7 separate regions of the Homo sapiens genome follow, and regions 2, 3, 4, 5, 6 and 7 are each linked to region 1. Evidence: promoter capture Hi-C in 16 types of primary human blood cells and fetal thymus (Javierre and others, 2016). All regions are on one chromosome and are shown on one strand. Each heading gives the region's core, a stretch centred on a gene start or on the middle of the fragment in contact. The rest is flanking DNA. Distances are from core to core; before and after follow the strand shown. Region 1 holds the start of LINC00525 (long intergenic non-protein coding RNA 525). Region 2 has its middle 210 kb from the start of SNORD151. Region 3 overlaps TNS3 (tensin 3). Region 4 overlaps TNS3 (tensin 3). Region 5 overlaps TNS3 (tensin 3). Region 6 overlaps TNS3 (tensin 3). Region 7 overlaps TNS3 (tensin 3).

Region 1 (3,920 bases), core at 715-3,214:
AAGTAATTTAATTTTAGGTCAATGAATGCTCCACTGTGATTCAATTCTGACACATGAAACAAATAATGAGATGATCAAGCCCTCTTCTTCCTTGCAGAAACTCGCTAATCCATATGAATGGTCTGTTGTTCACGAGCATCTGGTTCCCTTAACAACCTGTGGCCTGTTTACTCCATGGGGAGAATCTGGTCCTCAGAGCAGCTTTAGGGTCCATGCACCTTACTGGACATCCATAATGCACCACAGAGTGTGGTGCAGCAATATGCCATGTGAGGATTTTTTAATCCTTGAAAAGTTGGGTGAAGAGGATAAGATTTTTCGTATAAGATAATACAGGCTTCAAAAAGTTGGAAAAAGAGCACATTTAGAAAGTCCCAGAGCTGGGATTTGAACCCCTGTGCTTCTGATTCTAAATTGCTTCCCACCACGCTCATGGTGACCTCTAGAAGGTGTTAGTGAGGTGGAGATGTACCCGGTAATCCTGCCAGTGCATCTGTGCACTGATTCTCTATTGCTGGCTGTCCTTCTTGGCATCTTATTCAACAATAGCTACTGTAAGGGGGGAAATAGTCTTATATTTTGTGAAAGAACTCAAATGGCCAATTCATATATGGCCAGTTTACTTAAGAATGAATTACCGACCGGGCACAGTGGCTCATGCCTGTAATCCCAGCACTTTGGGAGGCTGAAGCGGGTGGATCCCCTGAGGTCAGGAGTTTGAGACCAGCCTGGCCAACATGGCAAAACCTCATCTCTACTAAAAATACAAAAATTAGCCGGGTGTGGTGGCTGGCACCTAAAATCCCAGCTACTTGGGAGGCTGAGGCAGAAGAATTGCTTGAACCCAGGGGGCGGAGGTTGCAGTGAGCCCAGATTGTGCCACTGCACTCCAGGCTGGGCAACGGAGCAAAAACAAAAAACAAAAAAGAATGAATTACCAGGCTCTAAAAACCTATCAGTAAGCTTTTTTTTTTTTTTTTTAAAGACGGAACTTGATGCTAAGGAAATTGCAACAACACAATGTCCTAATACACTGTTGACAAGATTAAAAAATTTTTTATTTTTAATTTTTGTGGGTACACAGTAGGGGTATATATTTATGGGGTACGTGGGATGTTTTAATACAGGCATGCAATGTGAAATAGGCACATCATGAAGAATGGGGTATCCATACCCTCAAGCATTTATTCTTTGTGGTATAAACAATCCAATTATACTTTTAATTATTTTAAAATGTACACTTAAATTATTATTGACTATAGTCTCCCTGTCGTGCTATCAAATAGTAGGTATTATTCATTCTTCTATTTTTTTTTTTGGTACCCATGAACCATTCCCACCTTATCTCCCCAGTCCTCTACTATCCTTTTCAGCCTCTGGTAATCATCCTTCCTATTCTCTATGTCCATGATTTCAATGGTTTCGATTTTTAGATCCCACAAATAAGTGAGAACATGTGATGTTTGTCTTTCTGTGCCTGGCTTATTTCACTTAACATAATGTCCTCCAGTTTCGTTCCATCCATGTTGTTGCAAATGACAGGATCTCATTCTTTTTATGGCTGAATAGTACTCCATTGTGTATATGTACCACATTTTCTTTATCTGTTCATCTGTTGATGGACTGTAAATTTGCTTCTAAGTCTTAGCTATTGTGAACAGTGCTGCAACAAACATGGGAGTGCAGATATCTCTTCAATATACTGATTTCCTTCCTTTTGGGTATAGACCCAGCACTGGGATTGCTGGATCATATGCTAGTTCTATTTTTAGTTTTTTGAGGAACCTCCCAACTGTTCTCCATAGTGGTTGTACTAATTTACATTCCCACTAACAATATACTAGTGTTCCCTTTTCTCCACATCCTCACCAGCATTTGTTATTGCCTGTCTTTTGGATAAAAGCCATTTTAACTGGGGTGAGATATCTCATTGTAGTTTTGATTTGCATTTCTCTGATGATCAGTGACGATGACCACCTTTTCATATGCCTGTTTGCCATTTGTAAGTCTTCTTTTGAGAAATATCTATTCATTTCTGATTTTTTATTTGGATTACTAGATTTTGATTTCTGATTGGATTACTAGATGTTTTCCTGTTGAGTTGTTTGAGCTCCTTATATATTCTGGTTATTAATTCCTTGTCAGATGGGTAGTTTGCAAATATTTTCTCCCATTCTGTGGGTTGTTTCTTCACTTTAAGAAGATCATTAATTGCCTTAATCATTCTAAAAAGTGATTTGGCAAATAAGGGTTGAATTGTGTCCCCCAAAATGTCTATGTCCAAGTCCTAACCCCTAGTACCTCAGAATGCAACTGCATTTGGAAACAGGGTTTTTGAAAATGTGATCAAATTAAAATGAGGTTATACTAGAGTAGAGTGGGCATGTAATCCAATATGACTCATCCAATATGACCGGTGTCCTTATAAAGAAGAGGAGATTTGGCTGGGCATGGTGGCTCATGCCTGTAATCCCAGCACTTTGGGAGGCCGAGGTGGGTGGATCACCTGAGGTCAGGAGTTCAAGACCAGTCTGGCCAACATGGAGAAACCCTATCTCTACTAAAAATACAAGAAAAAAAAATAGCTGGGCATGGTGGCAGGCACCTGTAATCCCAGCTACTTGGGAGGCTAAGGCAGCAGAATCGCTTGAACCCGGGAGGCAGAGGTTGCAGTGAGCCGAGATTGCGCCATTGCACTCCAGGCTGGGCAACAAGAGTGAAACTCCATCTCAAAAAAAAAATTAATAAATACATAAAAAATAATAAAAAGGGGAAATTTGGACCCAGACATGCCTGGAGGGAAGATGATGGGAAGAGACACAGAGAGAAGATGGTTGTCCTCAAGCCAAGGAGAGAGGCCTGCAACAGATTCTCCTTCAGCCTTTAGAAGGAACAACACTGCCAACACCTTGATCTTAGACTTCTGTCCTCCAGAAATTGTGAGACAATGCATTTTTGTTGTTTAAGGCAACCAATTTGTGGAACTTTGTTCTGGCAGCCCTAGCAAATGAATACAACAAAATATATACTGTATTGAGAACCTTAATATTGGCAATACCATTTGCACAGGAACTCCTTGCCTTTGGTTGCCACCTAAGAAATCATGCATATGGACATGGAATTACACATAAAGTATATTTAGCTAGTTTTTCTTCAACATGCTATTGCAGGAGGACAATTCAAAAATCTTTCCAACTCCCACCTGATTTCTGAAGGTTCTCTGGGAGCCTGCGCATCAGCCATCAAAACACACTTGTCACATTTTTCTTTCCTTTTGGCCTCCTTTAGTGAAGTCAGCTGCCTGAGGCTGGGCGGAGGTGCTCAGCACTCCCTCTGGTTTGTGGGGGGCTGGGGTGGGTCACACTTATTCTACTGGATATCACTGTTCCTGGGCCCTGCCACCACTCTCAGCCCTGGTGCTGTGGATTCTGTTCATGAGAGGGGCTGAAGTCAAGCCTCCCTCTCAGGCCCAGATCTGAGTCTACAGGTCAGCCGGGGCTGGGGCCTCACGGTAGCAGGTGGTGACAGAGGACATGTCATTGTCGCAGTCACTGAGGACACTGGTTCTCATAGCCCAGCCTCTGTGCCTGGACCTCAGCTATAGGCCTGGCCCCATTGTGCTCTCCCTGATGAGAATCTCCAGGCCTTGAGCTACCTGACTCTTCCCAGTTGGCCAGACACATCCCAGTGAATGATCATCATCCTGCTCTCATCTCATAGCCAGCTGATCAGTCTGTTCACCCTCCACCTACTCAAGTACAGAGTGACACACCCCAAGCAACAATCGCATGAGAAATTCTACCACCTGGGGAGGGCAGAACTGGGACAGACTTCTTTCATTTTCTGATCTGCTTTTGCCAGATGTCCTCTGTAGCAAGAGGCAGGACAAACAGTGAGGACTGCACCAACACTCACCGGGT
Region 2 (3,920 bases), core at 560-3,059, 500 kb before region 1:
ACAAATGCACAGGATCATGGAACCAGCACCACAATCAAGACAGAAAAGTTCCACCCACCTCAAAAGTCTTTCTCACCATCCTTTGAAATCCAGCTCTCTCCCATCTCTAACCCAGGACATCTCCATCCCTAAGGCTTTCCCTTTTCCAGAAGGTCATATAAATGGAATTGTATAGTTTGTAGTCTTTTGAGTTGGACTTCTTTCATTCAGCATAATTATTTTAAGATTCTTGCATTCTGTTGAGAGTATCAATAATTTGGGGTTTCTTTGCTGAATAATATTCCATTGGATGGATGTACCCCAGTTGGTTGGTACATCCATCAGCTGAAGGACATTAGGTTTTCATTCTTGGCAATTATAAATAAAAGTTGCTCTAAGTATTCATGTAATAAGTTTTTGTGTGACCCATAAGCTTTCATTTCCACTGGGTAAACACCTAAGAGGGAGATTGCTGCAACATACATGGTAAATGTAAGTTTTACTTTACAGGGAAATTTTCAAACTGTTTTCTTTTTTTTGTTTTGTTTTTTTGAGACGGAGTCTTGCTCTGTCGCCCAGGCTGGAGTGCAGTGGTGCAATCTTAGCTCATTGCAACCTCCGCCTCCCGAGTTCAAGCGATTCTCCTGCCTCAGCCTCCCAAGTAGCTGGGACTACAGGCAGGTGCCACCAGGCCCAGCTAATTTTGTATTTTTAGTAGAGATGGGGTTTCACCATGTTGGCCAGGCTGGTCTCAAACTCCTGACCTCGTGATCCAACTGCCTCAGCCTCCCAAAGTGCTGGGATTACAGGCGTGAGCCACCGCACCCGGCCCCTTCAAACTGTTTTCTAAGCAGTTGACCCATTCTGTATCTCCACCAGCAAGCGTAAGAGTTCCAGTTTCTCTGCCTCTGCCAGAACTTGATAATGTCCATTTTTGGTTTTGTTTAGCTTTGCCTTGTTTTTGAACTAAGGGAGGTGGAATGAGAGCTCACTGTGCTTTTAACCGGCATATCCCTAGTGTCTCATGCTGTTACATTCATGTGCTGCCTTACCATCTGTGTATCTTCTTCCAGAAAGTATCTGTTCAAATCTTTTCCTTTTTAATTCAACCCTCACTTTTACTTGTAACTGTGTGAACTTGCCACATGCCTTTCCCTGCTTTGCTTTGGGTAACTAGAGGGAAATAAACCCATTGAAGACACTAAGTATGTATGAGACACACCCAGTCATGTTTGGCCATATGCCAGAAGGACTAGTAACTTTGCCATCTTACCCAGGGTGGCAAGTAGACATCCTTCAGCTTCACCCACACCTCAGGCAGCTGTCAGTATTTCATTCCAGGAGTCTTCTTCTTTGCTTTCAACTGGGCCATCATAGAGCGGCCAAGCTCTCCCAACATGCCCCCCGTGCACTCCAAATCTTGGGAGAGGGGTTGGAGACAGACTTTGGCTGCCCTAAGAAGACCCCAGGTTCCTGTTGCCCCTGAAGCTCTTCCTCATGACCAGCCTCGCCCACAGTGAATCTCAGGCTGTATGGGCTTAGGAGAGTTGCTCCAAGATTTAGGAAACCCCCACCTCAGGGCCCTGACTTTCCAGGCATGTCTCTCACTATTGAAGCTACATAGAGGATACTCAATAGAGAAAATCAATGGTTTTGGTGTAAAATAGTTATACCCTAGAAGTTAGCATTATAAAGCTTAGAGAAAAGTCACTCCTATAAATACCCTTGTAAGGAAGCTCCTCTGAGACATTCCTACAGCACTGGGCAGCCAGGAATGACACTGGCCAGACTGGAGTCCCTGCCTAAGATGCTACTTCTGGTAGCCAGGATGCAAAAGGGGGTTACTTAGAGAAAACCGTGGATGAACATCACTGTGAATCACCAAAGAAAGGAGAGAAATTGAAACTTCTGTATAAGACTGCAAAGAGGAGAGAAGCAAGGAGGTGTTTGCTTCTTACGCCCTTGGGAAGCTTGTCTAGTACCCAGGTAGATGTTTCCTATTTTGAGTTCCTATCATACTTTTCTCTCCCCTTCCTTCCTCCCTTCCTTCTTCCTTTTTCTTTTCTTTTCTTTCTCTCTCTTTCTTTCTTCTTTCTCTCTTTCTCTTTCGCCCCCTCTCTCCCTCTCACCTTCTCTATCTCTTTTTCTCTCTCTCTCCCTCTTTTTCTCTCTCTCTCCCTCTCTCTTTCTCCCTCCCTCTCTCTTTCTTTCTCTGTCTCTCTCTTTCTTAGAGATGGAGTTTCACTCTGTTACCCAGGCTGGACTCCTGAATAGCTGAGAGAACAGGCATGCACCACTGTGCTGAGCTTATAATACTTTTCAATAGCTCTTCAGAAGCCAAAAAAAAAAAAAAATGAGAGAGAGGGAGAGAGAATAACACATGGCAATGGCACATACACAGACACAAACATGTAAATATAGTTTTTACATAAACTAACACCCACCAGAGTGGCTTCCCCCAACTCATACTCCTTCCCTGGCTTTAGGTTGTCAAAGATGATCATATCTGATGCCTGATAACAAAAAAATGTTGATAAATATGGTAGTGATAATGGTGATAGTGATGGTGATGTTGAGGATGGTGGTGATAATGATGGTGATGATGGTGATGATGATGATGGTGGTGGTAATGATGATGACAGCGATGATGATGATGGTAATGAAGAGATGATAAAGTGATGATTTTTTCAGTAATGGTGATGATGATGATGATGATGGTGATGATGTGATGACCATGATGATGATGATGGTAATGGTGATGATGACAGTGATGAGGATATGGTAATGGTGATAATGATGATGGTGGAGATGGTGATAATGGTGATGATGATGATGGTAATGGGGATAATGATGATGGTGATGTTGATTGTGATAATGGTGAAGATGATGATGATGGTGATGATGAAGATATAGCACAATCTATGGAAAGTTCACTATGTCCTTGGCTTTGTACTAGTTCTTCTTACACATAATTTCATTCCATGTTCACAGCAACCCTTTTCAAAAATGGAGTCCCAGGAGCATGATCACACAGCGTGGACTGACCAGCCTGACTCTCACCCACAAACAGAGAAGGAGGATCATCAGTGCACAGCTCTAAAACACACTGTCACGAAGAACTCTGTCAATCGGAGAGGTTATTTCTTTTAAAACTGACATTTAAACACTTTCCTTATGCCATAAGCAAAAATCAACTAAAGATGGATTAAAGACTTAAATGTAAAACCTAAAACTGTAAAAACTCTGGAAGATAATCTAGGAAATTCCATTCTGGACATATAGACCCTGGCCAGGAGGGCCAAACAATTGTAACAAAAACAAAAATTGACAAATGGGACCTAATTAAACAACAGAGCTCCTGCATAGTAAAAGAAACTATCAACAGAGCAAACAGACAATCCACAGAATGGGAGAAAATATTTGCTAACTATGCATCTGACAAGGGTCTAATATCCAGAATCTATAAAGACCTTAAACAAGTTAACAAGCAAAAAACAAACAACCCCATTAAAAAGTGGGAAAAGGACATGAACAAACACATTTCAAAAAAGATATACATGTGGCCAACAAGCATATGAAAAAAATGCTCAACATCACTAATCATTAGAGAAATGCAAATCAAAATGACAATGAGACACCTTCTCACATCAGTCAGAATGGCTATTATTAAAAAGTCAAGGCTGGGTGCAGTGGCTCATGCCTGTAATCCCAGCACTTTGGGAGGCCGAGGCAGGTGGATCACAAGGTCAGGAGATTGAGACCATCCTGGCTAACACGGTCTCTAGTAAAAAATACAAAAAATTAGCCGGGAGTGGTGGTGGGTGCCTGTAGTCCCAGCTACTCGGGAGGCTGAGGCAAGAGAATGGCATGAACCCAGGAGGTGGAGCTTGCAGTGAGCCAAGATCGTGCTGCTGCACTCCAGCCTGGGTGACAGAGTAAGA
Region 3 (3,920 bases), core at 730-3,229, 470 kb before region 1:
AAAATGAAAAGCATGTGTGCATCAGATAGGAGCTGCGAGGGAGCCTGGAGAATTCAAAACAGACTTCACGAGAGGGACAGTCCGCCTTTGATTTTATTAGCATTACTGTCATGCTGATCATGCAGTTATGAAAGAGAGAAAAAAGGGAAAATTTTGACCTAACTACTAGGAAAATTCCACAAAATTGGCACAATCTCAATCAGTTCACACAGAACCACAGCTGCCACAACCCAGACCCATGCTCTCTTGAAGGAGTCACAGATGGCTTTCTGATGAGGAGCAGTCTTGCTGGCTAGAGTTTGGTAGCAATCTGCTGTTTGGGGAATCTCTCTCCCCAAATGCAGGAACTATGTCATCATTCCTTAAAGCAGAGAAGAAAATGCTGCCACTAGGGAGGCTGTTCTACGGAGCACACATCAACCAACTGACACCAAGTGCCCCAAAGCCTCTCTCCAGCAGAGAACAGGCATGCCTGCGCCTGCCTATGATTGTCCAACTGCACCTGACCCAAGACCATCCAATGCCACTTGACAGGTGCTCTTGGCCAGAGGTGAAGATTCAGTGCCCAGTAAGAGTTACCAGGAAGGCACCCACCAGACCCATGGCATGGAGTTCTGTCAATTGCTAGGCTACTCTGGGAAAGGGACTTGATAACACAGAACAAAAGTCTGAGGCCCACATGTGGGAATTTGTCCTAAGGCAACAATCCAGATTTCAGAAAAAATAAATAATGCAGAAAGATGGTCCTCTAAGCATTGTCTGTGGTATTAAAAATTAGAAACATGGTAAATGAACATCCATAAGGAGGTGAATTATATGATGGACTATTGTGTAGCCATGAAAAAAATGAGACCTGCATTATGTTTGTAAAAACCATGGGTAAACTTATTATGCTAAGAGAAGAGAAAAGAATCGTACAGGCAGCATGACCCCAAGTACAAGGAAAAAGGCAGCATAGGATTGGATCTGCTTGACATCAGGAGTGGTCTTTGGGCTGGAGAACACTTTACCTGCTGTCCACTCTTCCTCCCAATATTCAGGGGCTGCATAGGGGCAACCGATCTATGAGTAGTTCATTTTTCCTTTTCTTTTATTTTCCATTTTTAAAACTTAAAGAACATATAAGACTCTATAAAAAAAAAAAAGTATACCTACCATATGCTAAAAAATGCAACTGCAACATTTCTGGGAAATCTATTAGAAGGCTACTGAAAAGAAGTAAGTCTTTCTTTTCAGGATTATATTATATTCCTCTGCTTCAACAAGAAACAATTAAGAACCGAGGCTTAAAACACAAATAGAAATTGTTTTAGAGATTGGAACAAAGGCATAATGGCCTTAATATTTAAAAAAAGGGATTAAACTGGAGAGCATTACAAGTTTATTCCCATCTTTGTGAGTTGTCTGCTAATATTTCTGAGTTTCAGCTTCCTGAATCTTTATAACGGGGAAATTGGACATGATCATCTCAAAGAACATTGCACATCCAGGAGTCTAGGACTCTAAGTGAATTAGGACAACAGATGAAGTTCAGTTTAGGAAAGAAAACTCACTAAATTGCTGGAGGTCATCAGAGATTGCAATAATTCCACCGTCTTGCTACAATGGTTGTTCTGCACTGATTCTAAACACCTGCAGCCAATCCTCCAGGTGAAGACGACACTAGCTGAGGGGTGGTCACTGTGACAGCCTCACTCCTCTGGTGACAGATCTGCTGTCCTGGTTCCGTGGCTTGGAATCGCGGTTAATGTAATGGACAGCAGACATTCGCAGCTCTCAATGTGTTTCAGAAATGAGATTTTTAAAGGAAAGAAGCTCAAGGCAGTCATAATTTAAGCTTCATATATAAATGCCCAACTCAGATGATCAGATACAAACTCCAAGTTCTGAATGAAGTCTTGACTCTAAGAAGACCCACCCTTAAAAAACATTTGGAGTTATTGATACATTTCATACGTAATTTTAAAAGATGGAAGTGCACTTAAAAATGATAAGTCAAGATAGAAGAGAAAGTTTTAATATCTAAAAACAAGTGCTATTAGGATGCACTGTTATGATCAACTAAATTCATTCAATTCATTTATTAATTCCACACTTACTGGGTGAATGCAGGATAACTAAGAAGCTTAAGGAGAAAAGTGAAATTGCGTGTGCCCTGGTGCTACCATATAGGGCTGAATGGGCAGGGCTGTGTCCCTGAGACAATATGGGCACAGCTGGACGTGGGAGCTGAATGCCAGGCCTAGATCTACCATTCAGGAGCCAGAGCTGCCAACTTGGGTCCTCTGTCTATGACATGGGATGACAGGACACTACACCCACACGCCCTGTGGGTGAAGGGGAGGAGACAATAAGCTGGGCAGGACAAGTGCTCTGTGCCTGTTGCTATCACCGTTCTTCTGCGCTTTCTTGAACACTGCCGATGCATAAGTTGTGATTTTAAAACCACTAATTAAAGGTTTTCAAAATTTCAAATACATTTTTAAAAGGTGCAACTGAAACAAATAAATCCATCAGAGTGGAGCTGGTTTTGTAGCCCTGTCTCCTCAGTTGAGAGTGAGTGAGCTGCTCATCAGATAGGTCTACAGTAAATTCCTGCATCCTTCTGGGCACTTCACTGGGACCCACAGACAGGGTCCACTGTTACTTTAACAGAAGAAAGCTAAGAACCATGATGGGCTCCAGGGACCCCCTAAAACAGATTTAGGGGCTGTGGCCCAGGACCAGCCCAGGTCCCTCACAAGGGAAAGGGTGAGGCCGGCTTCCCAGGAAAGGCCATTCCTCTTGGGCCAGAAAAATGCTCCCAAGGCATTGTCAATGTCCTATTCATTTAATCTTTTCAACTGCTATGTGTGGAAATATTATTATCCCCACTGACCAGATACAAACCTCAGGTCCGCATGGCTAAGTGATTTGCCAGAGATCAAAATCCTGAGTAGCAGAACATGGCCGGAAACCCATGACCACAGCTACATTTTTCATTTTGGAGCTTCGAGTTTTAGCACACTTGCAATTTGGGGCAAGCTATTTTCACCTTTGTTTTGGCCACAGATAACTTATCCTATAAGGAGAGTCTAAAATAACTTAAACACTACAAAATTCCATTCAAAACAGAGTAATTTTACTTTAGCTTGGTAACAGACACAGTGATGTATAATTTTACAGGGAAAAGCTACATAGAAGAATAATACAAATTGTAGAGGAAATAAGAAAATGCCTATACATTTCATACACCTTCATTGTGGAGTTACACCTGTAAACTACTCTGCAGATATGAGGTACAGAATGGAGGTATTTCTAGTCCAATTTTCTACCAGACTCAGAAATTCCCTCCCCAACATTTCTGACAATAAACACCTACCTTGCATGAAAAACTTAAAACAGTTTTGAAAGTCAGGGTTTGAAAGTCAGCAGTCCCCACTGTCCTCTCTAGCTGTGTCCCTCCCTCATGGCCACAGAACCACAAGAGCCCTATGGTGTGTGGTTTGTTTACAACCTTCTTAAACTGGGGCCACTACGACTGCATCTAATGCTGCAAAAGTAACCTGGCCTGGAACTAGTAAGCGATTACAGAAAGATGCTGGATACAAGGTTAATGTACAAATGGTCAACTGCTTTCCTACAGACCAGCAATAAACAAGTAAAATTTGAAATTAAATACACAATACCATTTACAGTAGCACCTCCCAAAAACTACTTACATATAAATCTAACAAACTATAGACAAGATCTATATGAGGAACACTATTAAACTTTGATGAAAGATACAAAAAACTAAATAAATGGAGAGATATTCCATATTCATGGACAGCAGGACTCAACTTTTGCCAAGGTGTCAGTTCTTCCTAATTTCATCTATAGATTCAATGCAATCTCAATAAAAATCCCAGCAACTTATTTTGTGGATATTAACAAAGTGA
Region 4 (3,920 bases), core at 719-3,218, 410 kb before region 1:
CGAGGGAATCATTTAATTGTTTGAGTCCATCAATTACTTCTTACACACTTCACATCAATGTGAAATGACCAGCACCTGAAGCAGTCTCTTCCTGTCCCCTAGCCTCCCTCCTACCACAGCCCAGCACCCCTCCTCCTCCACCCTCCTCAGCTGCCCTGGTCTTGCTTGGGACCACAAGGGGCCTCACCCTACAACCATCCTATCCTTGAGCTTCTGGTAAAACTGCAGGGGCCAGCAGTGTAGCCTCAGGTCTCACTCCGCAACCTGCAGCCCTCCCACTCACACCTGCAGAAAGGGGAGGTATGGCCTTCACCAAGAATATTACATTATATGCATCAAAAGGAAACAAACAAACAAACACAGAGGACAAAACACACACACACACACACACACACACACACACACACACACAAATTCCAAGGTACGACAAAGAACTGGCCGTAATGCAATGAGATTGGGCAGTTTGAACAATGAAATCATGAATTGAATAATTATATTGTTAAGGCCTATTCTCCAAACACTACTACAAAACTGTCCATGCCTATATATTTTTCTGTTCAGTTAAGAAGTCAAATCCAGGAAAAGAGAAGAAAAAGGAGACCTCATGGGAGCAGGAGAGAGCTGCCACCACACAGATGGCTGTCACCTCTGGAAGGAGCTGATAAGGGGACAAGAGGGAATTTGCCAGCACTGGAGAGCACCTGCAGGGCTCTGGGCGATCCGCCCTCCCACCCCCAGCTCCCCAACGTACCCCTTCTCAGAAAAACCAAGGAGAAAGGGAACAAAACCCAAGCTCCCACACAGGGATGTTCACGGGCAAAGGGCAGCTCCCAAAGCCCTGGGGTGGGGCAGGGGGGCACCTGCATCTGGCTGCACCCATGGCACACACACCCTGATCTCTCACACCTGTGCCCACCCTGCTCCCAGCCTGAGGCCCAGGTGCTGGGGAAGAGCTGCCCTTACTTCCCTGCCAGTTCCCAGCCAGGAAAAAAAAAAAAAAATCCTGCATCCTCTCCTTACAAAGGTCATGAGTACTCAGTGCAGAAATCTCAGGCCCCTTGAAACCCCCAGTGAACACAGACCCCGGTGATCTGCAGGTGATGTGCAGCTTCACCCACTCCATGCAGCTGGGGTCTCTGTGGAGGGAGGGACAGGCAGTGGCTTTTTCTTTACACAGTCTTGTGCCCCTCTTGTCGCGGTGACACGCTCATTGTCCACCAAAACATGACATGGTAACATGGTCTCCAAAGGTCACATGACTGGACGCTGCCCATCTCTTTGGGCAGTCCCCACACCAGGCATTTAGCTGTCTTCGCCCAAGCCTCCTTCCCTCCAGACACTGGGTGCTACCCACCCAGAGCCTCGGGAACCACGTGACCTTGAGTATAAAATGGGACACATGCCCCAAAGTCCCCTACACTGCCACTCCCAAAGACCAGCATGTTTCCTCATTTAGCAGTCTCACTGTTATTCACGGGTGGAGCCGGCGTCAAGGACAGATAAGGAAACGTGCTGAGGGCTGCCCAGCCAGCAAGTTGCGCAGGGTCACCTGAGACTCCGCCACGCCCAGCGGGATCTGGGATTCACCACAGGGTGCAAAAGGACACCGAGCCTGCGAGGCAGGAGGACGCTCAGTCATTCCGGCCCCACAGGAGGAGCTGGGGATGGTGGGGCCTCAGCCCCAGGTGCATCCTATGACGTACCTTATCCAAAGCCACCACAACAGGGTGGGGGACGGTCCTGACAGGGAATCCTCACGTGCTCTGAGGAAAGAGCAGGAAAGCCAGTCCTTGACTGGGGGCACCCAGGGGCCTCGTGAGAAGGGGATGCATCGCCGTCAGAGCCCTGGAGAATCAGGGATTCAGGCCAAGACACTGGGTGCTGTACTAAACACATGTGGGACTGAACTCAGCCCAGCCTGGGGGTCAGCACTGTTGCCATCAATTCACCCCTGAGCAGTCTGAAGTGCAGGAGAGGGCTTCTCAGATCGCTTAGCCAGAAAATGTTTTTTAAATTTTGTTTAAAACACCCACAAAGCTCTTCGGCAACTTTCCACCTTGTCCAAATACACTGAACTCCCAATTATGTAAACTAATTGAGAGTGTAAAATAACACATCCTGATAGGTAAGTCAGTACTTATGTTGACCCTGAGCTGTGATTCTGTGATTCAGACTGCTCTTGGAGACTGATCTTTGCCAGCGCACGGCCTGGCAGATCCCAGGCCCTGAGGCTCTGCTGGGAAGTGGGATGAGGGAGGGGAAGGAAGATGGGTCAAGTGTTCAGGAGCGGACACCCACCATGCTGCCCACTCACACACTTCATGTCACTGCATTCTCTCCACTGTGGGGTCACATAGCCCACTCTGCCCTGGTGAAATAAAGCCAGCACCCAGGTGGAAGGCAGCCCATGGGGTCGCCTGCCTCTGCCTCTGATAACCAATACGTGACTGTTGGCTGTCCTCTAAATTCCACAGCAGGGTCACAAATCTTAGAACCACCCTGCGGCACGTTCCAGCCTCAATGAGCCAAGGGCCAGCTCTCCTGGAGGCTGGGACACGCACCTAAGTTGAGAACTGCAAATATACAACAGTGGTTCTCAAAGGCCATTGTCCACCTTTTATCACTAAAATCCTAAAGCTCGGGCCTCACCTGTGAAGTCAGAACCTCCAGCGGTGAGACCTAGGTGTCAGTATTTTTAAAAACTCCCTAGTGTTTCCAACACACAACCAAGCTCAAGAATCACAGCAGGTCTCAACCCTGAATTAGCACTGCATTATTTGGGGAGCATTTTTAAAGCAAGTCTGACATCCAGGCCCCACCAGGGCCAACTCAATCTGCCACCCTCTGGAGGTAGAAGCAGGTACCCACATTTTTAGCGTCTGCATTTTTAAAGCTCCCCAGGTGACTCCAACATGCAAGACAAAGTGTCCAACCTCTGTTCTAAAAGAGACGGAATCCGCTCCCTGAGCAAATCTTCAGGATGCAATATTGACTAAGACAGTAGACCTTAGGTGCTCTTACACAAAAGTAACTAGGTAAAGTGGTGGATATGTCCATTGGTTTGACTGTAGTGATCCTCTCCCTATGTATAGATATAACAAACAAAATATCATGTTAAACACCTTAAATAAATACGATGATAAATAAGTTAATTAAAACATAGAAAAAACAGGGGCCGGGCACAGTGGCTCACGCCTGTAATCCCACCACTTTGAGAGACTGAGGAGGGTGGATCTTTTGAGCCCAGGAGTTCCAGACCAGCCTGGGCAACATGATGAAACCCAGTCTCTACAGAAAAATACAAAAAAAAAAAAAAATGATCCAGGCATGGTGGCACATGCCTGTCGTCCTAACTACTCTGGAGGCTGAGGTGAGAGGATCAATTGAGCCCAGGAGGTCAAGGATGCAGTGAGCTGTGATCACACCAACTACACTGCAGCCTGGGTGACAGAGTGAGATCCTATCTCAAATGATAAATTAATTAATTAACTTAAAAAATAAGAACAGGTGAAAACTCATGACATGCTAGAACATTACCTATTTTAAAACATGCCTTCTTTCATTTTCTATCTGGGCACTAGAAGGTAAAGTCCCCATAAGCTACTGATTTATCTTGATGTGATCTTCTAGGAATAAAGCGCGACATCACACAGGTGTGCCTGATAGGTTCTGGAAGCTCCCTTGCATTCCTAGGAGTGAAAACAAATAACAGGCAAAGACTGCTTCACGGTGAGCTTGAGGCCTCCAGACTTCAGCTCATTCACACACACACACTAATCTTTTCGAGACAGTGTGTAAAAGGAGGCAGGGTGGCATGACAAGGATGCCCCAACACTCCTCCCAGCTGAAATGCTCCCAGAAATGGTTTTAGGAGTCTTCTCCCAAAACTGAAACAGGACTGATTGACCAGCCCCTTCCAC
Region 5 (3,920 bases), core at 1,007-3,506, 380 kb before region 1:
TAGACAAAAAGTGTTACGAGCCCAAATGCACACCAGCTAACAAATGAATAGGCAGAGTGTGGTGTGTCCACACAGTGGCACACCACAGCCATGAAAGGATGGAGCGTAACAGGAATGCAGCTGGAACACAGGCTGAGTGAAAGAAGCGAATCACAGAAGGCCACTCATTGCACGACTCCAGTGAGTGAGATGTCCGGAATGGGAAACAGAGAGAAGGAAAGTAGCTTCGTGGTTGCCAGGGGCTGAGGAAAGGAGGAACTGGGAGTGACCACTAATGAGTACAGGGCTTCTTTTGGGGTGATGAAGATGTTCTGGAATTAGATAATGGCGACAGTTCCACAACCTTGTGAACGTACTAAAAATCAATGCATCGTATACTTTAAAATGATTAGAATGGTAAATTTATGTGCTATGAATCTGATCTCAACAAATAAAAAGTAAGAACATTCTCAGGCTAGAAACCACATGGTAACAAGGGCATATTTAGAAAGCAACGGCAACCAGCCCGAGGCTCGCACATGCACTCAGGTTTTATACAAAGCGTCTGGGGACAGAGGCAGGCTCTGACCCCAGGTAGACAGGGGATTTCTGCAAGGGAGCCTGGGGCACACAACATTCAAGGAGAGAGAAGACACTCTCTTCTGTGCACTGGTCACCGGAATGAAACCGACACTGTGATCACATGCTGCACCCTCTAGTGCAGGGTTCCAGGCCAAAAGAAAGCTGTCCACCTAGACAGATCAGGGTGTGGCTTCTGAGGAGGCCATTACCTGGACTGCAGGTCAGAAAGTGACACGCAGGGCCTCCTGTGAAGTTCCTCCTCATAAGGAGAGACACATGAAAGTGACATCTAAATTCAGATAGCTTCTGGTAGAAAGTTCTGATTTGAAAACATGACACCACCAACTTTCAACAAATGCAGGTCCCTCCAGCCCGTGACCACCCATTCTCCCCCCACTGTCTCCACCGTTTGCTCCTCTCCCAACTTTCTTTCCAAGGACTCATCCTCCTGAGCTGACATCCCTACCTGTCCACCACACTGAGCCTGTGTGATCCCTGCTCCAATGTCAGGCCCCTCCCCACCCACATGGGCAGACAGGCCCGTCCCAGGGGGTCTCTGGAGGGGCAGCTGTGTGCCTAGAGGCCGGGAAGGGGCAGCCTGTGCCTCCTGCACTCCACTTCAGAACACTTTCACCCAAAACTCATTTCTCTCTGGAAACTGGTACCCCTGGCTACAGCGTTCTCCAGCCCTGCGGGCTGCCATTGCCCCTCACTTCCCAGCCCATCCCCCAAACGTCCATGCCTCCCTTGGTCCAGGTTCAAACACTCTCATCACCGGCATTTCTGTGGCTTCTCCTGGGAAACCATCAACATTTTATTGAGGCCCTGGCCTTGACTCTTTGGACTTTAGATAACTTTCTTTGGTTTGACTTTAGAATTTCTCATGACATACCCTCAACTTCCACCAAACTTTGAAAGCCTTGAGCTCTTCAGGAGTGGTGGCCAGGACTCTCCTTTCTCTAGCAGCCGCTACAGCTCCCTGGCTCCTGCTCTTCTCTGCATGTATCCAGCCCTTCCCTCAGCACAGTGGAGTCACAGCCAATGTATGTTTAACTCCAGCACCAAATTTAAGACATCGAGGGCAACACAGATCCATGGTGCTTCCTCTCCTAGCCCATCTAGACCCACAAGGCCTGCTGTCTCCCTCGCCTGTGGCCCACGTCCATGCCCCTGCTGATGTGCATGCCTCTGAAATCACAGAGGCCGTAACAGTGTGGCGTCCACACATCACTGGGCACACCACACTGCTCACCCAACAACCACCTGTTGCCAGGGGAAGCTCCTCCAAGCTGTCCCAGCTCTCAACACCTCCACTCCCCAGACTGTTGTCCACTCCCAACAGACAACCTCGCCTGCCTTGTACAGGTCAAGTGACGCCACAGCCAGTGAACTCACTCCCAGTCTGCTCTCTACCCTTCTCTGCATCCTGGCTCCTGCACCAGGCACCCTGCTTTGGACACACTCATGGTGCTCTCAGTCTCCTGCCTCTGTCAATCCAGTCCCTGCCTGAACTGAGCTCAGCACATCAGCAGAAGGAGATTCACAGCCGGCGACCAAGCCCCCACTCTTGGCTTCACCAACTAGCCCTCTGACCCCTCAGTGTGGTAAAGATTAGATATGTTAATGCAAGCTGCATGCTCGGAAGGTTGTGCAGCTCGTGAGCAGCACTCAGCAAGGGTGAGCTCTGACAACAACAACCATTAGCCATTCCAGCCCTGTCCTGGCCTCTGCACGGAGCTGTGCCATCCAATTCAGCTCTGTATCTGCAGCATCCAGCACTGCCGATGCTCAGAGAGGCAGGGAGGAGATGGAGACTGCATCCTGGATCCTACAGAGCCTGCCTGACAAGCACACGTGGCCTCTGGTTTTCTTTCATGAGCTTCCCAGAAGGTGACACTCTGCCTTCACTCCCCAGGTGACCTATTGGAATCCTCCGATTTATGATTAACAAGAGAGCAATATATTACATGTACAGGAATAAAGAATGAACTCCCAATACTACGAGAAAGATGGTTTCCTCGCAGCCTCTTCCCACCCTCAGGAAAGCACCCATAGTGCCCATCACTCGGTGGCTCCCCCGCCGCTTTTCCTTCTGCCTCATCCTAGTCAGGGGCCCAGCAGCATCCCAGACTCACTGCTACGAGTTCAGGGGCAATGTATGGCTACTGCTGCCACCAAAGGACGGCTGTTGAGATCTTGGCAGAATTCCCACAATCAATCAACACCAAATCTTGCTATTGCTCTAACCGTTTGGCCTAATTTCAGTGAGAATATATCCCAGGTCATAAATTAGCTCACATTCACACTGACAAAAATAAATACTATTGAATTTTCATAGTATAATTTCCCATAGACTGTCAACACCATGAATCCTAAATTAATTCAACTTTCCATAGTGAAGTCTGAAAGACTACTATGTCAAAGGGTGTATTTTCCTTGTTAAGAAATCATCACTATGCACTTATAAAGAAACACTAAACACATCTCTGGCTCTTGCTATGTGGAAGAAAACTTCCTGGGAGCAGTTGTACCCTCCACCTAGGCCCTATCAACTGGAGGGGGTCCCCCCACATCCACAACAGGCAGGTGCAGGCGGAGCGCACACAGGACATTTGCTGGGGACGCCCTCCTCCTGTCCACAGAAACCTGTTTTCCCAGCTCCTGGGGTCAATGGCTTTCCCTGCACTTCGCATCAGTCTCTCGGGCCCTAGGGATTTAAATCTGGGCTCCCAGCTCCAGAGCAACTGTCACTGGGTGTCCACCCTCGACAGGCCTTGACCTTGGCTCCCTCTCTGTGACATGCTCTAATAACACTCCTGGCTCACATAGCAAAGTGGTCACCCTGTCTCTTACCCCGATCCATGGACCTCCATGCCAGGTCTCCCCGACAGACAGCCAGGCAGGCTCTAGGTATATGGCTGTGCTGAGGCAACGAGCCGAGGCGGTCTCAGCTTTGCTCAGCCTGGCATGCGTCCCCATCCAGCACAGTGTCCACAGGGGGAAAGGAGTGCTGTGAAAACCAGCTTTCATCCCCAAAGTAGGTCAGAATTGCTCCTATCGGCAAGATAAACTGAGCAAGTCTGAAGATCCATTAAAGCTCGCTTTTCTTACATAACAGCACAAGCTGCCATTATATCAACCCTGTTTTTCAAGAAATAGCTGGATGTTTTACATAAAATATCCCTGCAATCTGTGCTATGTTAAAAAATTTAAGTAAGGAACACACCCACTAGTCTCTGACACCTATGCCTTCTACCTCACATGCCCTGCCCTCCATGGCATCTTAGATAACAGTAACAGAATACAACAACTGCATCCCCTCTGTCCTTGGACTTACAGAGAGAGTAAGTGACAATTTA
Region 6 (3,920 bases), core at 552-3,051, 360 kb before region 1:
GATACAGAAAGTATAGGCAGTTTCATTGGTTATCCATAATTTTTTTCCCCCAGGGATCAATGATCATTTTCTCCTACTTTGGGAACAATTTTGTCAGTAGGCTGAATTTTGGAAAGAGGGTAAAGGGGATAGTGAAAGAATCAACCAAGGAGGTTCAACCGCAGCTGCCCACAAGCACAGGGCCGCCAGCTCCGCGCCTCACCTTTGCTGGCATTGTCCAGATCCTCCTTCCCAAACACCAGCCCGTAGCCCTGCACAGCCCCAGTGTGAAACTGCAGGCGGAAAATGACGTCACGGGTGGCCGAGCGGTATTTCTTGTGGTAGCATTTCACCTGGGTTAGAGAGACAAAACAAAACAAAGTAGCTGCAGCGGGGGACACACGTTCCCGGCAAGGAACACACTCCGCGGAGGCCGGCACAGCAGGGCCTCCCCTCTGGACTCTGGCTGGGAGTTCACGCTTTGGAGTGGAACTTCAGCCCTGGGGCACAGGCGCCTGCAGACAGCTGGGGTGCAGGCAGAGGCACCACACTGCTGCTGCTGGGTGCGGGGCTCCACTGGAGGCTTCAATGTGTTCCCTGTGCTGCTCCTGTGGAACCGCAGCTCTGAACACCACTATCGCTAGTCCTCAGAGAGGCCACACCTAAACCCTTTCAGACCACGTGAATGTGCCCTGTTTTGGAACACATCCGAAAAATAGAATTCCATGGTCTCTTTTTTCTAGACTTTAACAACTGATTGTGATAGCTTTTCTTTGATCTCAATGCTCCATGTTGCAACTTAAAGCTTTTTGTTTTCCAAAAAGCAGCAGCCGGTCATTACTGTGTGTACTATCCTAAATGATTATGTGCATGCTGTAATTTAGAGACAGAGATACAAAGAAGGAGGAAGGGAGAGAGGGAGACAGAGAGGGTGTTGGCATTTAGACAAGTGTTCAGAATCACCCTGATGTGATCTGAACTCAAGCTGGGGTTCATGAGGTCCCCAGGGTGCAGCTCAAGCACCCTAAATGATTGTGCCAATGAGCCAAAGGGTAGAGCAAGCCCCTCCTTGCAGATGCTTGGCATGTGGGGAACGGTGGGCAGAGCAGGAGCCTGAGTGTCCTGACCTGCCTGTATAACTAGGTCCCCCCTGCTTCTTGTGACCGTGCGCAGCACTGGCATCATTGGAAGGGTTCTCAGGCCACAGCTGGGGGAGCTGCAGGGACAGGGATACCCCTCACTCAGAGATCAGGGGCAGGACCACCAGGTAGTGGCACTTTCCCAAATCCCCAGAAGGCCGAAGGCCCTGGACAGGCTGGATTCTGCTCTCAGACCAAATCGTGCACAGGCAGGTACCTCCCCAACCCCGAGGCTGTGGGGTAGTGACTACCAGAGACAGCCACGTTCCCATAAAAGAGACTTTTCTTGGAGAAAGATGGCTTTAAAATATCACATGCCTCACAACAGTAAATGAGAAGCCACCGCAGCAGGTATGATCCGGACCAGCATGCGGGAGAATTCTGCAGGGAGGGTCTTCCCTAACCAGATGAACATCCACCAGAGGAACAAAAAGCCCAGAAACCCAGCCCAGGAGGCAGGGAGCTGTGACTCCAGGCAGACCCAGAAGATGTTTACCTTTGTGCTATCTACAAGGAAAGGGACGGGTAAATAAACCAAAAAAATATAATTAAGACTGTGGAAGGATGTTCCCTGTTGACAAACATGACTGGGTCTCCCTTGTACGGCCTGGCGCTGGCCAGCGGTGCTGTAAACATGGGGCTCAGACTCAGGCCTGGCCTCCAGGGGCCCAGGAACCAGGGCGTTTGCAAGTAGAAAACTGGCATTGTGAAGAAATGTTGCCTCAATTTGCTTTCCAACAGCCAATGGCACGTTGGCCACAAATCTACCACCTCTGTCCGAGACTGACTTCTCAGCAAGACTCAATCAAAGGCTGCCCTTGCAGGGATCCTTCCAGGATGTTCTGAGAGTATCTGGGCCCCTCCTTTGAGCTCCCCATGCCCCACACTCACTACACTGACCACCCATCAAATGCTTCAACCTGGGGCATATTGTAGAGATCCCCAGAGGGAGGTCCTTCTGGCCAAGGGTAAATCCACACATGCACCCCCATTGATAGAGATGATAGCACCCACCTTTCCCTGTCTGCCTTCAAATGTGCCTGTCTGCCTCCACTAGTGCCTTGCAAATGGGGAGTGAAAAGTGGTTAGGGAAGGGAAAAGGAAAAGAGATGCCCCAATTCAAGCCAGTCTTGCTCTCAAATTTTATAAATATTTAAGGGAACCAGAGATTTAAAAAAATAAAAACAACAACACGATGTCAGCTGATAGCTCACGCAGCCTGTGCTGCCATGGGCGCCAACATTTGCCCACAGGAGTCAGGAAACTCCTCAGGAGGCAGCTGTGGGCTCAGTCCTGGCAGGCAGGGAGTGTCCTGGGTGAAAACAGAGGGAGCTGTGGGCTCCAGTACGGGCCACATAAGGGGCACAGTGGAATATCCCCAACCGCAGCTCACCGTGCCCCTCCCGTCAGTACCGCCCCGCCCAGCGCAGGGCCTCCTTCCAGGCCAGGTCCTGCCCTCCCTCTTCAGGAATCCAGGATGCTCCCCCAGGTCCCCCCACTGCTCCTCATAGCAGCTACACACAAACACACTGCTCCTCCCGCAGCAATCCCAGCTCCCTCCACATACCAGAAGGGAGGAGAAGGCAGGCCACGGTGCCCAGGAGGTACAGAGTGGCAGGAGATGGGAATCGGCCTGTCCCAAACAGGTTCCTCTCCAGGCCCCATATGATTCTCCTGTAAGATTCCTATTTTTCACAGCACAAGCTTTCAAATACTCCTAAGGCTCCACAGTGAAAGAAAGAGCGGTCTATCCCACTGGCAGAGAACAACTGCTGCCTGAAATCACGTGGCCCTCCCTTCAGGGGTTTCTCTGTGTATTTTAATGCTAACTTTGTTTGCTGGCTTGAGATCCTAACGGCCTCATCATACACAATCCCTGTTTCATATTAAACCTCTTTCCTCTTGATTAATGGAGGTAAACACCACCCTCCCCAGTCCTCCTGACCAAATCATGAACTGACTCCAGCTTCTTCTGAAAGACACGGAAAACCACAGGATTTTCCCTAACTCGGGGCTCCCAGCAACCACCATCAACACAGCAGGTCAGATCTTGAGACAAAATCCACTCACCAACCAGGAGCCCTCCATAGTGTGCAATAATTATGCATTATCTACATCAACAAATCTTTTTAGGAGCAATGGCAAGAGATCAGAATTATGCTTGTAATACTTAACAGAAAGAACAATCAACATGGTACTTGGTACGAGGGCCCCCAAATGCCTCCCTTTAAGATATAATAGTAATGCAAACATTTCGTAAAGATTAGACTGATTCAAGTCTATAATTTTCCCTTCATCCCTCCGGCTTTAACTTTATTTACCTGGGTCTCCCCAGAGTGTTTCTAGAATATGTTGATCCTTTGCCTTCAGATTTTAGAATATCTGCATTTAAAATAACAACTCAAAGATGTGCAGTCACAATTTTGTAGCATAGAAAAATGAAATAAGAAATAGCAAGCACCACAACAAAGGCTGCGCACAGCCTGTCACCATGCTATCATAGAGCCAACCACAAAAGTACGTGGGTGTGATGTTGACATCACAAATCGCTGGGAGCACTCAGATCTTGAGAAAGTTGCAGCCTCTTTAGACTTTAAATTCTCTGACTGCAAAATGAGTATTATGATATTGACCTGGCTATGTTGTTATAAAGATTAAATTAGCACTACATATTAATATAATTCATTATCCAATAATGATATGCTATATTTATATGAATATATTATTTAAAGGGCATAAGCTTCTAGAGAGAGGGCACTTGGTACTCAAAAACATATAGGGTGAATGATGATCTCAATGGGA
Region 7 (3,920 bases), core at 888-3,387, 330 kb before region 1:
TCTTTTCATAATGGTGACTTTTATCTCTGTTATTTTTTGTTAGAGAATTCTCTATTAAAGAACAAGGGACAGTGGGGTCACTTATTTTTTTAATGCCTCCATGGAAGTACTTAGAATCAATCACACAGTCACCCAACCTGGAAAATGCCACTTTCACAAGTGTAAACGCTTAACTGGAAACTGGGTTTCTAGGCACTGACCAACCCAGCACTGGGGAATGGGAAACACAGGTCAGCCGAGCCCTTGGTATCCAGAACAGCTCCCGCGCAGACAGCCTTCAGCCCCATGCAGGCCCAGCTTTTAGCACCTCAAGACAGCGAGCTGACATCTTCATCCTACCTGGCTGAGACGTTGGTGAAATGCATGTAGGATGATATGACCACTCCTATGCGTCCTTTCCCGCCCTGCAGGAGACAAAAGATCAGCTGATTTTCTCTGAAATCCCACAGCAGAGATGTAATTAGAACAGGAAAAGACTCACTAGTGGACAAAACAATAGAGAGCCTGCTTTGGTGGTAAGGCCAGCATTACCCACAGCCTTCCTGTCTGGGAAAGTCAGTACCCAGTGCAACTGGAGTCTCTGCAACAGGGAACCCGCACGCTGGGTGCAAACAGTAAGAGTGGGTGCTAACTGGAGCAGCTGTAGAAGCCCAGGAGGGCTGACCAACACAGCAGCTGCCTGTCATTTTACCCAATTAGGCTGGAAAAAACTGTGCCAGGAGCTGCAGCAATTAGCATGACTTAATTATCCAGGTCAGACAGAAGTGAACGCCTGCCTGCTCACGGGCTGACAATGATCAGGGCTGCAAACACAGCTCAGCATGATGGGACATAGATTCCAGCTTACTGGCAGCACTGCCGGCACCTGAGCTCCACATACACCGCCGCAGCCCACCCTCATTACACATAAAGGAACCACTGTCCCAGGCAGAAGTTCTGGAAAAGGACTCACTCAAACCATAACCACAGACACCAACAGCCCAGCCCACAGACCAGCAACACCAGCAGGAGAAGCAGAAACTATTGGACAGGCCACCTTCACCCAGGGCCACAGAGTGCCACCTTCTAGAACATACTCTTACAACCTACAACAGCAGATTGCAAACCACAGCCCAGGAGCTACTTCTGCCCATTACCTACTTTCCCACAACTTGTGAGCTAAGAGTTAGTTTTACATTTTCTAACTATTAAGAAAAAATTTTGAAAAGATAAGATTCCATGCCATGTGAAAATGTGTTGAAGTTCAGATTTCAGTGTCCAAACACAAAGTTTGACTAGAACATGGCCACTCCCATCTGTTTACCTACATCCAGGGCTGCTTTCACTCTCACTGCAGGGGTAGGTTTGAGTATTTGCAGCAAGACCACGGGGACTGAAAAGTGTAAAATACAATCTGGCTCTTTTTTTTTTGGAGACGGAGTCTCACGCTCTGTCCCCCAGGCTGGAGTGCAGTGGCACAATCTCGGCTCACTGTAAGCTCCGCCTCCCGGGTTCACGCCATTCTCCTGCCTCAGCCTCCCAAGTAGCTGGGACTACAGGCGCCCGCCACCATACCCAGCTAATTTTTTGTATTTTTAGTAGAGATGGGGTTTCACCATGTTAGCCAGGATGGTCTCGATCTCCTGACCTTGTGATCCACCAGCCTCGGCCTCCCAAAGTGCTGGGACTATGGGACTACAGGCGTGAGCCACCGCACCCGGCCTAATCTGGCTGTTTTTAAAAATATTTGCCAACCCCTGATCTGGAATCATATAAAGCCAAAAAGGCAGGGCCTCTAATATGTAGCTCCCTAACTTCTTGAGAAGAAACTACTGATCAAATTCAAGTCACAATTCTGATAAGCCCAGTCATACATGAAAGTCACCCAGGAGCATCCTTCTCTCTGTCAGTGAAAGTCAAGAGCATGCCTTATAGATACTCAATGCGGGCACTTGATACACTCTTTGCAGCTGAATCCTGGCACGTGCAATTATTAATGGTATGGCTACTAGTATACCTCTTGCATAAAACTATATTTGACAGCAATTCACCTACAAAGAAACAACACCTCAGCCAAAACAGGCACACATGGTGGTGACATTCACCCCATTATCAATCACTTTTGTGGCACTATTTATGGATGTATAAAGCAAGTATTTCTTTTCTTTTCTTTTCTTTTCTTTTTTTTTTTTTTGAGACAGAGTTTCGCTCTTGTTGCCCAGGCTGGAGTGCAATGGAACGATCTTGGCTCACGGCAACCTCCACCTCCCGAGTTCAAGCGATTATCCTGCCTCAGCCTCCCAAGTAGCTGGAATTACAGGCATGCATCACCATGCCCGGCTAATTTTTTGTATTTTTAATAGAGACGGGCTTGCTCCATGTTAGTCAGGCTGATCTCGAACTCCCGATGTCAGGTGATCCCCCCGCCTCGGCCTCCCAAAGTGCTGGGATTACAGGCATGAGCCACTGCACCCGGCCTATAAAGCAAATATTAAAAGATCTGAAGGGACAGATAGAAATACCACAACCGTACGGGACTTCAGTACCCCATTTTCAACAATGGACAGATCACCTAGACAGAAAACCAGTAAGAAAACAGGGTACTCAACCTGCACTTTAGACCAAATAGACCTTACAGACATATACAGAACATTGCATCAGAATACGCATTCTTCTGAAGTGCACACAGAAAGTTCTCCAGCATAGATGGCATGTTAGGCCACAAAACAAACCTTAACGAATTTAAGGAGACTGAAATCATATTCAGTATTTTTTCTTTTTTTTTTTTTAATGGAGTCTCCCTCTGTCATCCAGGTTAGAGTGCAGTGGCATGATCTCAGCTCACTACAACCTCCACCGCCTGGGTTCAAGCGATTCTCGTGCCTCAGCCTCCCGAGTAGCTGGGAATACAGGTGCATGCCACCACACCCAGCTAATTTTTTTGTATTTTTAGTAGAGACGGAGTTTTGCCATGTTGGCCAGGCTGGTCTCGAACTCCTGACCTCAGGTGATCTGCCCGCCTTGGCCTCCCAAAGTGCTGGGATCACAGGCATGAGCCACCGCGCCTGGCCTCAAGTATCATTTCTGACCATAGTGGTATGAAACTAGAAATCAATAACAGGAAGAATCTTGGAAAATTCACAAGTTTATGGAAATAAAACAACATACTCCTAAATAACTACTGGGTCAAAGAAAAAAAGTCAGAAGAGAGATTTAGAAATATCTTGGGAGAAACAAAAATTGAAACACAACACACCAAAACTTATGGGATGCAGCAAAAGCAGTTGTAAGAGGAAGGTTTATGGCAATAAATGCCTATGTTAAAAGACAAAAAACTCTCAAATAAAAAAACCTAATGTCAGGCAGGGCGCGGTGGCTCATGCCTGTAATCCCAGCGCTTTGGGAGGCCGAGGTGGGTGGATCACGAGGTCAGGAGATCAAGACCTTCCTGGCCAACATGGTGAAACCCCATCTCTATTAAAAATACAAAAATTAGCTGGGTGTGGTGGCACGTGCCTGTAATCCCAGCTACTAGGGAGGCTGAGGCAGGAGAATCACTTGAACCTGGGAGTTGGAGGTTGCAGTGAGCCGAGATCACGCCACTGCACTCCAGCCTGGTGACAGAGTGAGACTCCGTCTCAAAAAACAAAACAAAACACAAAACCTAATGTTGTACCTGAAGGAACAAAGAACAAACTAAACCCCAAATTAGCAAAGGAAGGAAAAAACAAAGGTCAGAGCAGAAACAAATAAAGGAGAGACTAGAAAAACAATAGAAAAGATCAACAAAACTAAGGGTTGGGTTTTCTGAAGACTAACAAAATTGACAAATCTTTACCTAGATAAGATAAAAAGAGAAAACTCAAAATCAGAAATGAAAGAGCAGTCATCATAACTGATGCCATTTAAGACACAAAGAAACATAAAAAACTATGAACAAG

The links. The method cuts DNA at HindIII sites, captures the fragments that hold promoters and counts their contacts. A CHiCAGO score of 5 or more calls a contact.
Region 2: a contact is called between a fragment that was not itself captured here and the fragment with the promoter of LINC00525 in region 1, in 4 of 17 cell types (total B cells, naive B cells, erythroblasts and 1 more). The highest score is 6.8, in total B cells.
Region 3: a contact is called between a fragment that was not itself captured here and the fragment with the promoter of LINC00525 in region 1, in 5 of 17 cell types (total B cells, naive B cells, fetal thymus and 2 more). The highest score is 11.6, in total B cells.
Region 4: a contact is called between a fragment that was not itself captured here and the fragment with the promoter of LINC00525 in region 1, in 3 of 17 cell types (naive B cells, total B cells and erythroblasts). The highest score is 9.8, in naive B cells.
Region 5: a contact is called between a fragment that was not itself captured here and the fragment with the promoter of LINC00525 in region 1, in 2 of 17 cell types (total B cells and M0 macrophages). The highest score is 8.6, in total B cells.
Region 6: a fragment that was not itself captured here is called in contact with the fragment with the promoter of LINC00525 in region 1 in 4 of 17 cell types (M0 macrophages, naive B cells, total B cells and 1 more); the score reaches 8.4 in M0 macrophages.
Region 7: a contact is called between a fragment that was not itself captured here and the fragment with the promoter of LINC00525 in region 1, in 6 of 17 cell types (total B cells, naive B cells, M2 macrophages and 3 more). The highest score is 13.0, in total B cells.

Annotation. Positions count from the first base shown.
Region 1 is chr7:47,759,512-47,763,431 of GRCh38, forward strand. It overlaps LINC00525 (long intergenic non-protein coding RNA 525), which reads left to right and starts at 1,965. Exons shown (of 3, transcript NR_038407.1): 1 at 1,965-2,002; 2 at 3,862-3,920. The HindIII fragment of the contact is 4,383 bases long and covers 962-3,920 here.
Region 2 is chr7:47,257,775-47,261,694 of GRCh38, forward strand. No RefSeq gene overlaps it. Among named protein-coding and RNA genes, the nearest start is that of SNORD151, 210 kb to the right of the region's middle. The HindIII fragment of the contact is 275 bases long and covers 1,673-1,947 here.
Region 3 is chr7:47,285,973-47,289,892 of GRCh38, forward strand. The region is part of intron 27 of TNS3 (tensin 3); the gene reads right to left. Among named protein-coding and RNA genes, the nearest start is that of SNORD151, 180 kb to the right of the region's middle. The HindIII fragment of the contact is 288 bases long and covers 1,836-2,123 here.
Region 4 is chr7:47,353,622-47,357,541 of GRCh38, forward strand. The region is part of intron 17 of TNS3 (tensin 3); the gene reads right to left. It overlaps LOC124901629 (a long non-coding RNA gene), which reads right to left. Exons shown (of 2, transcript XR_007060319.1): 1 at 188-3,920. Among named protein-coding and RNA genes, the nearest start is that of SNORD151, 110 kb to the right of the region's middle. The HindIII fragment of the contact is 8,931 bases long and covers 1-3,920 here.
Region 5 is chr7:47,383,140-47,387,059 of GRCh38, forward strand. All of the region lies in intron 16 of TNS3 (tensin 3), which reads right to left. Among named protein-coding and RNA genes, the nearest start is that of SNORD151, 80 kb to the right of the region's middle. The HindIII fragment of the contact is 5,773 bases long and covers 1-3,920 here.
Region 6 is chr7:47,400,583-47,404,502 of GRCh38, forward strand. It overlaps TNS3 (tensin 3), which reads right to left. Exons shown (of 31, transcript NM_022748.12): 14 at 203-332. Among named protein-coding and RNA genes, the nearest start is that of SNORD151, 62 kb to the right of the region's middle. RefSeq lists enhancers at 1-801, 2,548-3,056. The HindIII fragment of the contact is 2,038 bases long and covers 783-2,820 here.
Region 7 is chr7:47,427,973-47,431,892 of GRCh38, forward strand. It overlaps TNS3 (tensin 3), which reads right to left. Exons shown (of 31, transcript NM_022748.12): 9 at 340-404. Among named protein-coding and RNA genes, the nearest start is that of SNORD151, 35 kb to the right of the region's middle. The HindIII fragment of the contact is 8,256 bases long and covers 1-3,920 here.